2 separate regions of the Homo sapiens genome follow, and region 1 is linked to region 2. Evidence: promoter capture Hi-C in 16 types of primary human blood cells and fetal thymus (Javierre and others, 2016). All regions are on one chromosome and are shown on one strand. Each heading gives the region's core, a stretch centred on a gene start or on the middle of the fragment in contact. The rest is flanking DNA. Distances are from core to core; before and after follow the strand shown.

Region 1 (4,966 bases), core at 229-2,728, 200 kb before region 2:
GTGCTTCTGGGCCCAGCTAAGGAAGCCATCTGTTCCCAGCAGAGGAGAGCTGCTGCGCTGACCTGCAGAGGTTGGTGGTCCCAGCACAGAGCTGTGCCCATGGGCTTGTTAGTGGGAAAAGCAAATACAACAATGTTTTACCAAACATTTAATTATGAATGCCCACTCCCCAGCATCTAGATCTAAAATTATTAACATTTTGCCACATTCTTTTTCTCTCTCTGTGTATGTATATGTTTTCTCTGTCCTAATTTAAAAGTACATTGCAAACATCATGAAACTTGATCCCTGAAAGCTTCAGCCTGCATCTCCTAAGAGTTAGGGCATTGTCCTACACATTGGCCCAGTATCACAGCCAAGACGAGAAGTCATTTCCCAGCGATGTCTGCTATCTAATCTGTATTCAAATCCCCCCAATTGTCTCCCAGGTAACTTATGTGTCTGGTTTTGGAATCAGCATCCAGTCACGGTGCACACATTGCATTTTCTAACTATGTTTTTAAAACCTCTTTGAATGCTGAAAGGTCTTCCCTCAGCTCACTTTGAGTTTTTAAATGACATTGTTTTTGAGGCCCTAGGCCTGCTGTCTTTTTGAAGCCCCACATTCTGAATTTGTCAGATTGTTTGCTCATGGTGTCGCATAACCACTTCTTCTATCCCCTGTACTTTCAAGGATAATTTAGGCTACATGAGATTTTGCCTTTTGTGCTGACTTGACAGCTTCACTTCTGCCTAAGATGCGCCTCCACTGTCACCTGTACCAAGTGCCAAAACAGCAGAGGGGCCAGTTAGAGCAAGAGCTCTGGGGGGGCCGGAAAGTCTCCCTGGAGAAGGCCGTAATATCTGGGCCTTGGAAGGAAGGACACAGGGCTCTGGAAGGAGGAGGCTGCATGCCTGAAGGCTGGGCCTTCGACCCTGGGGATGGGCCACAGGGCACCAAACACATCATATGTCTCTCTCTTTCTATTTTGGGGTCCCAGGGTTTTCATTTCCTGGAGACCCGTGGTCTGTGTGCACTGGAGCAGAGCCAGGCTCTCAGTTGCAGCAGGGAAAAGCCTACATGGGGAACTGCCTCCCGCAAGCTGTGGTGTGAGAAGAGCCCTGGCTGGCAGCAGGAGCTGTGAAGTTTCATCCCAGCCGGGTGCATTTAGTAGCTGCCTGACCATCTTCCTCCCAGGCCCTCAGTTTCTTCATCTGTAGAATGAGCAGATAGGGGCCACAGCAGGGATTTTCACACATCAAAGGAGGCAGCCTCTGCTCTAGTTGATGTGAGGATGAGGGGGCGGCCTAGACCCCCTGCTGCCCAGGCCGTTGAGGCAACACTGGGTTCCTGGCTTGACAGCTGTGGGCTGGCTGCCCTTGCCAGCTCAGACGGCTGGCGAGTTTTCAGCTTCCCTAAGGGACTGGCATAGGGTTTTGTGGGGTCAATGCCAGGAACCTGGGGGAAACTGGATGCGTTTTATCCTAAGAAGTTCATCCCTCCTGCTCTTACTGTTTCCGGCCCTGGAGGAGAATGAGGGAGGAGAGGGTTTTCTATGACTGTGTTAGCTTTTATTATTAGCAAGAGGGCTCCTTTTGTAATTTGTGCATGAAATTCATGTCATTTCCTGGGAGAGGAGAGGGCCGACTGGAGAGGGTGGGGGGCACACTGGGGAAGCAGGCAGAGGTTTCCTTCCCTTGTAGGGGGGTGGGGAGAGTGGGGAGAGGGGGTGCTATCCAGTTCGCCTGATGAGGGCTCTCGAACCAGCCGTTTTGGGTTGTGTTAAAGGTGAGACCTTCCTCCATTAATGTACAATCTCGAACTAACTGCTAATAAAGTGGGGTTCTGTTTGTACACCTTGGTCCTGTCTGACCTTTTTGCAAGGCCCGCAGGGAAGGGTGGAGTAGGGGTGTTTGCATGCACGGCCAAAGCCCGCTTGTCCCTGCCACCTCAGGCATGCACACGTGCCCACATGTATGCACACACCTATACACATGGTGACTTGGTCAACGCAGATCATTTTCACTGGGTTATAAATGGAAGATTTCCCAGATACAGCAGAGGCCTATCCTAGGGCAGCCACAGGGGGCATCTCAGGTGATAGAAGCCCTCAGACAAGCTGGATTGCTCAGAAGCCCTGGGTGTCGGGCACTGGACCGAGAGGAGACTTGGGGGCTGGAACAATTTCTGCTACTAATGTATATTGTAGCTGGGGGCAAGCCACTTTTACTGTTTTATCCCATTTCCCTCACCTTTTAGACGCATGGAGGGAGTTGGACTCCATGGCCTCACTTGAAGAACTTGCCTAAAACATGCAGATTCCCAGGTCTACTTCCAGAGATTCAGCTCCAGCAGATGTGGGGTGGGGCCCAACATCTTTAAGGAGCCCTCCAGTACACTGAGGAATTTATAAGGAGCCCTCCAGTACACTGAGGCAGCCCAGTGTAACTCTGGCTCAGAGTGGGAAACTCTGACTCAGATCCATGGTTCCTATGGGTTCTAATTAATACGGAGAGCCCCACTGTCCAGGAAAACTTAGGGTAAAACAAATGACTGAAGCCCTCACAGCCTAATTGAGGGCCAGACTCGAGATTTGCCTGGAGAAGGAGAGTTCACAGGTAGGGGCCCAGGCCAGTGTCTGCAATGCAGGTGATCAGACATGCTCCTTCAGAATCCCCTTGGGAAGCTTTAAACAATATACATTCCTGGGCTCCCCCAAAATCTGCTCACTCAGAACCTCTGGGGTGGGACCCAGCACTGTGTACTTTAACAGACTCCTTGGTGTTCAGGGAAGTTTGGGAACACTGAATCAGGCCACCATGTTTGTCAGAGACGGTACCCAGAAATGTGCACAGCTTCTGAGGGACAGAGGAGGGGCATGCTGGGGACACAGCTGGGCAGTCCTGCTTCCCAGGACCCAGTATGTTCAAAGTGAAATACCACAGTGCCACCTCTGATGGCACAAGGGCAGCACCTGCAGAGCCCTCTTTGCAGTTCGTCAGCTGGGAGCTTGGTTTGGGTCAGGTGGCCCTCACCAGCAAGAACACAGCTGGAGGCTGCATGGACAAGAGCAGATCCAGAGGCATGGTGCAGAAAGGTGACTGTGCCAACTGAGGGGTCAGCCTGCAACAGGGATTTTTGAATTTACATACAGCTGAGATTCTGTTTTGAAAGAATCACTTAATTGAAAACCAGGTAAAGGTGGGGGTGCTCTGTGGTTGGAGTGGGAGTGAAGCTCTGGACTCTTCCCAGCTCACCTCCTCCCTGTCTCTCAGGCTATCTTGGAACCCTAAGATTTCTCAAAACACATTGTGAAAACCCAGCCCAGTTGCTTCCAGAGGTCCTAAAAGTCCTGCAGTTCTAATAGGCTGAATGAGTAGCAGCCCATCAGCCCCTCCTCACCCCCCACGGGGATGTCCACCCAGTAAATCTGGTGCCCCAGGAGTGGTTTGGGCTTCTAGAGGTGGGGAGTTACCTTGGAGAAGCCTGGATCATGCGTGTAGGGCAGTGTGTTTCACAATAGGAAAACGCTGGGAACAACCTAGATGTCCATCCACAGGGTCTCAGCTAGGTAACCTCCAGTGTATCCATTCACTGTAATGATGATTCAGTTGAAAGTAATGAGCTCAGTCTCCAAGCCCTGCCAGGGAAATTTCTATGACAGACTTATACAATGTGACCATCATGGAAAGAGAACACTACAGTTTGTATTTTTCCTGGGGTTGTAGATAGACGTCTCATATCAAACTGATACTAGGGGAGGAAAGACTGAGAAGGGGAACTTTCAAAGGAGACTTCAGCCTTGGCTGAAATATATATAAGACAAGGATAATGCATTTGCATATCATTTGTGGAATGAAAAAGTCTTAATGAAAAATAGAAATGGACAAAGCAGAAAGGGGGACTCCAAGCAGCTAGACTTACATGACGATGCGATGAAGGCCAACACTGCTTTACCCAGCCCTTAAGCTCCTATGGAGTTAGGATCTGGAGGAGGCCTAGGTGCCGGTGATCAATTTCTTGCCTGGCTGCATTTATCCTAAGCATTCGTGAAGACCCTGAGCTGAGGATCCTGACTTTCCTGTGACTGTAGGCCAGTCTCAGCTCCTCTCTGGCCCTGGGAGCTTAGCTTCCCCAAGCTGACAGACGGGGGAGCTAGGGTTAACATCACCATTGCTGGAACAAATTGACACCATGTCTCCCGATATGATGCAATGGGAAGGACCCAGTGCAACACCTGGGAAATTCCTAACGAAAACACGGGACATGAATCCAGCCAAGGGGAACAGACAGACACATCCGTATTGAGGGACATTTTGCAAAATAACTGGCTTGAACTCCAACAATGTCAAGGTGATGAAAGATACAGAAAAGCTGAGAAATGGTTCAGGATTAAAGGATACTAAAGAGATGTGGTAATCAAATGCCATGTGTGACCCTGGAGGGGTCCTGGACCATGAAACAATTAGCTATAAAGGATACCATAGGGACACCTAGCAGAATGTCAGGATGGACCGTGTGGATTAGATAATACTATTCAACCGATGTTCAATTTTCTGGTTTTGATTATTTTACTGTTATGTAAGAGTATCTAATGAAGTACATGTGAGATATTAGTTTTTTGAAATTACTTTTGCACCAACCTAATATTTAGGGGTAAAAAGGAAGAAATGGAACTGAATTTTGACTCCTGTTCTTTCTCTAGTGGTACTAGATGGTAGGTACTCATCAGATGCAGTCCAAAAGATGTCCACCAGGGGGCACTATTATCCTAGCCTCTCACAGTGTAGTCAGCGCGAATGCCTCCCGGGAAGACTGGGCTGGTGGTTAATGGTGGTGGGGCAATAATATTATCAATATTAACATCAATAAATTAAATAATATAAATAAAAAGTATTTCTTATCCTGTCAGGCAGACCCTCTGCTTATCAAGTGCTATCTTTAAAATTTTTTCTTTTTGTGACAGTGTCTCACTGTGTCACCCAG
Region 2 (5,383 bases), core at 1,450-3,949:
CGTGAGCCACCATGCCTGGCCCATGTGTCTTTTTAACTAGCTATTTTAGAGAACAGTCAAGGAAAATAGGAAGAAAAAAAAAATCAGTCCAGGTCTTACCTATTCTTTTTTAGTTTGGCTTCAGCCGATGGCATATTTTCTAAACAACTGGGACAATAATGGGAGTCCACCTAGGAGGAAACAAGAAAGAAAAAAAAAACCAGAGGAGAACTCAGTTTAACTTGTGTATATGTCTTGTCAAATAGTGAATTTTAAAATATGTTATACTGTAGCAGAAAGTAGACTGTTTTCTGCTTAGGGTTTATTCTTCTTCAGTCACCTGTTTTTTTTTTTTCTTCTTCTTCCGGATTTAAAAAATCCTTCTATTTTTCTGATCTTTCCTATTCCATCATCAGGGTTTTATGTGTTAAAAGTTGTTTATTTAACAATCTACAATTTCCAGTTGAACTCCATAGAATTCTATGATTAATAAAGAGATTAATAAAATAATCCAATTTGTAACATTGTGATAAAATATCCTCCTGTCTAGGCTAGCTTTATATGACTATAAAACTTGACCATACTTTTAGGTTTTGAAGGACATTTTTTTAAAGATTTCTCATTATTGAAGTAATACAGGTTGACTGAAGGCAAGCATAAATATTTATTTACATAGTCAGCTATGGCCAACCAATTAGAGATTTTTAAACAAATTAATGGGACAGTCTTATTGTACTTAAAAAACTGGAGTCTAAAATTTAAGTTCATTTTATTTTTTAAAAGTCTGAATAATTATTTTCTTTAATGTAGGTCCTATTTGACAATTATAGAACTCTAGTCACCTGCAAATGAAAAGACAATCACTGGAACATAAATACTATGATAGAAACTGGCTTTTTTCATCATCTGCTATAAACAGGTCAATTTGAAAAGATTAATAAAGTTGTTGCTCAAATAATCTCCAGGAACATAAAATACAATATTGCTAACTAACCTCTGCACTGACTCATCAAAAAAGGCAAAATACAAGTCATTCCTTTTTGCCCCCTTTCCAAATTCTGCTTGTCCGTTCATGTGCAGCTCCAGACCCAGATTCTCCATTAGAACTTCACTGCCTGCCCCAGCCCTCAGAGCTTCATCTTTCCCTAAACTCTAATGGCCTCCATATCACAGGTACACATCAGGCTGTAAAAGATGCTGTCACAGACTGGATGTCCTAATTGAAGAGAGTCTTAGAGACAGATCATGGAGACTGAGCACTCTATTCACCACAGGAGAATATGATCCAATAAATTCTGGAGGTGGAGCTGGAATAGGGAATCATCAAGGAGATACACATAAGGAAAGTGCTAATGGAGATGAGAAGAAAAATCGATGCCATATTTTTAATATATACGATTTTTCTTGTATTATTTAATTGCTTTTCTTGACTATTCCTATTATGAAAAGTATCTTCAATAAAATAAGTTATTAATAACACATAAAATGGCTTATAGTATGTGTTTTCATATGCATTTATTTTAACAGTCCCGGGATCTTCAGTAAAAAACACTCTGAGTTAGGCTGTTTAGATTCAAATCCAGGTCCTCCTTCCCACCCCCAAATTACTGGCTGTGTGACTTACAGCGAACACTCTGTATCTGTTTCTTTACCTGTAAAAAAAATTTTTTAAAAAAAGTATCCACTTAAATTGGTTTGAAGATTACATAAAGCACATGACATATAGCAAGTATCGAATAAGCAGCAACTATTACTACTATCAGCTTTTTCTTCACTAAGACTATGGCTTATTAAACAGCGCATTTTATGTCTTACTCGCCTTTTAATCCCTAAAGCTTACTGAATAAACAAGATGTGCCAAGCGCTGCAGAAGTTTTGGGGTTTTGTTATTTGGTGACTTTTTACTGGCCGGGGTCTTCTTTTTGAAAAATCCAACTTCGGACGCCCACTTGTGCCAGGGAAGGACAGCATTGTCCTCTAGCTCCATAAATACACTTTCAGCTTCTTACATGACATACTGTATTCTGAGCGCTTTTCACATAACTCACGCCGCCCCAACCTCTTCCCGGCTGCAGGCCTTGGCCTGAGTCAGGAACAGGGCAAGGCAGTCTGACGAGGGCCCAGTTTCTGGACAAAAGAGGAACAGAACTTTCAGGATGGGAGAACTATGAATGAGAACGCCTGCGCCTCCCTCCATCCTCGCAATAAATCCTGGAAAGGCAGTTTTTCGCCCCTTAAGTGGCCTGAACTAAGCACCCCCAGACCTTTCTCCGTAGTCCACCCAATTACCAAGCCCCATCGCAGACAGACACGGTCCCTAAGTCAAGTTTGTCCAATCAGAGGCCGCTCTAGAACCAGAAGATCCGCTCAGTCCCACCCGAGGCTGCTCCTCCTTTCCAAGTGACAGATTAGAAGCAAATTAAATCGCAGGCAAACCCGAGTGACGGAAGACATAACCAATCAGTAAGGAAGGAAAATAGCTCCAGCCTTCCGGTGGCAGTGACTAGCATGAACGCCGCGCCCCCCCCACCCCACATACTCGCTATAGGGCGACTCTGTTACCTCGTGAGACACACATTCCAGCGACCGCAGTTCGCTACAATAGCGGCAGAAGTAGAGTTGCGAGAGCGGGGCCCGAACCTTCTTTTCTCCCTGGACTAGATAGAGAACCCGGTCCGACTGCAGCAAGGACGCCATCTTGGGGAGGGAGGAGGCGATGACGCTCCCGGCGCATCACGTGACCCGAGAGCCAGCGTCTTCCTCGCTGCCTTCCCTACGACTTCCTACGTAGACTTTGACGTTAGGTTTCCCACCTCGTCCGGCTCTGCGCCCGTCGAAAACCAGAGCGCGCGTGCGCAGCTGGGATCCCTGTTTTCTCCCCAACTCTGGGCCCGTCCCCCAGCGCTTTTGTGAGCGTCCACTGCCCTTACTGCCATTAGGTCTGGACTCAGTGAGCTCCTTTTATTCTTTTCTTCCAGAATGGAAGCCTGATCTTTTGTCTTATTTACGACGGCCTCCTCTGCCCCACTTAACAGGCGAGCATCCAGGAGACAAATGGAAGGTCTCAAAGGGACAGGGCTCCGTGGGGACTGCAAGACAGGAGTCACACCAGCACTGTCTTCTGAGTCTTGCCAATGGCCTTTGGGAACTTTCACATACATTATCTCATTTGAAACGCAGGTTTTTGAGTACATAGTTAGCGTTAGGTCTAAGTCTGTATTGTGGACCTTCAATAAGTATGAAAAGGAGGGAATGAAATCAATGAATGAACAATGTTGGTAGGCGTCTACGTTTTTCTAATGTGTAAACTAAGGCTCAGGTCTGCCTCTTGGGTGAGCAGCGACTACGTGAGACTGGTATTACATGGGTGGGAAAATAATTTATCAACAGTTTTAGGTAAAGAAATGCAGATTTATTAGAGAAGGTATGAAAATACGTTGAAAGGTTGCAATGGGCAGACCAGCCAGAGAGGAGCTGACTTCAAGGAAACAAAGGCTTGCTGGAGATTTTATCCGATGGTTCTTGGGCTGCAGAGTGCTGTGCAGTACCGAGAACTCCAAGGTTACAGGGAGCTAACTTGCATGTGTCTCGTGATAGCTGAGTGCAGGAAGATTGTGAGTTATTTGCACAGGAGGGCTACGTGTCCTGCACCATGAAGAAAGGCAGACTTAGAGTGCATCTGCTCTTCTTGCTATCCCTTGGTCCCACTAGCCTGACTCCCTTTCTCTAACTGGGACTCCCCAGTATGTAAAATGACCACCTAGAACTGCCTAGCAGAAACTGGAGCCTCTGTTGCCTGCCACCAGGTCTACATTTTTATAATTGTAGTAGTGTTGTATTATTACCTGTCTGACGTTAGAGTTGGTGATTGAGAAGAAAGGGAACTGAATACTATTAGCAAACATTTATTGAGCACTTATTAAGTGCAGCACACTGTGTCAAAACTTTACATACATTGTCTAATTTAATTCTTACAACAGCTCCAAAAAGCATGTGGCTATCATTATTTCTATTTTACAGAGCAGGAAACTGAGGCACAGGGAAGTGCAGTGACTCCTCTATAAGGTTTCATAGATGGAGGTAGAACCCTTTTCTCTCTGACTCTAGTGCTTGCAGGTATAACCCCTATGTATACTCCCTCCAGCATATTTTCTAATATGGTGATGTTAATAATACCTTACATTTATATAGACCTTTTCAGCTTATACAGTGCTAATCTCACAATTTATGTCACGCTTTACCAATTGAGCCTAAAAGTCATTACTTGTTCACCAAGCAATAGCCTGGCACTAATTTAGTTTCATAGGTGACATCTGCTCCTAGGAGAGAATATATTACTAGCCAACTCATTTGCAATTATTTCTTTAGGTTAATGAATTCGTTGGTTTTCTGGTTTATAAACTAGTCTCTACTGAGTTTAAATTCCCTTTTCTGGACTATGCTGTTAAAATGAAGTCCCAGAGCCTGCAGGTACAGAAAGGCTGGAGACTTGAGCTGAATCCACATAAAACAGACACTTTTTAGAGCACTGATTTTAAATAATTAAGTGGCCAATTATCTTGTCCCTGCTACATGCCAGGTACTGGGGAGGGAACTAGCGATAAATGAGATACTTTCCATCCTCAAAGGCTCAGGGTTCTAGCAGGATCGAGTCCTAGTTATGCACAATGGTGACCAGCTTGATAATGTAGCCTTGTGTTGCTTTTTCACTCTACCCAGCCCTGGACTCACCCTCATTCACTTCTCAATCCTGGCTTCCTGCCTGCAGAATCTCATTTTGAGCTCTGCTTTCTAGGGGGAACTCAGGCTAATACAGAGACCCTAAAGTTGAACTGGCAGATCAAAGGATATCCACATTTAATAAATACTGGCAATAAGCCCTTGTGAAATTCTAGGCCAATTTACACTCTCACTATAAGTGTATGAGCTATCCATTTCCCACTGTTTTGCCCACCTGGCATATTATCAAATTTGAGTGGATACTTTTGGCACTTTCTAGCTATGTGATCTTGAAAAAGACATTTACACCTCAGAGTCTTGTTTCAAGACACATAGAATGAGAAGAATAATCCCTGCCTTGGTGAAAATAAAAAATCATCCAGGCTGTGAAAGCATTTTGTAAGGTATGAAGTACTAAGCACATGGAAGAAATGCTCCCTAAATATCCCAAGTATGAAAAACCCAAAGTGGTTTTCATTTTTATAAAGAGTCCTTCAGAGTAAATCCACAATAATAATGGAAAAAACTGGAAGTTAGTCAGACTTTGGTCAAATGAGGTCTTGTGAAGGGGACCGAATCTGGGCTCTGACCTCAAAGACTTAGGGTTTTCTACAGCTTAGGAATCTGGGGAACTGCTCTCACCAATGCTGGCCACCTGCCCTGGCTGCCTTCCCCACTTTTGCTT

What was found. Contacts are between HindIII fragments. The CHiCAGO score rates a contact against its expected background, and 5 or more counts as called.
Region 1: a fragment that was not itself captured here is called in contact with the fragment with the promoter of DCTN4 in region 2 in 3 of 17 cell types (erythroblasts, M0 macrophages and naive CD4 T cells); the score reaches 5.8 in erythroblasts.

Annotation. Positions count from the first base shown.
Region 1 is chr5:150,556,378-150,561,343 of GRCh38, forward strand. NDST1 (N-deacetylase and N-sulfotransferase 1) reads left to right here. Exons shown (of 15, transcript NM_001543.5): 15 at 1-1,834. Among named protein-coding and RNA genes, the nearest start is that of NDST1, 51 kb to the left of the region's middle. RefSeq lists an enhancer at 731-900. The HindIII fragment of the contact is 2,371 bases long and covers 294-2,664 here.
Region 2 is chr5:150,756,318-150,761,700 of GRCh38, forward strand. It overlaps DCTN4 (dynactin subunit 4), which reads right to left and starts at 2,700. Exons shown (of 13, transcript NM_016221.4): 1 at 2,542-2,700; 2 at 100-170. The coding sequence starts at 2,676. RefSeq lists enhancers at 1,976-2,045, 2,476-2,775. The HindIII fragment of the contact is 18,997 bases long and covers 1,813-5,383 here.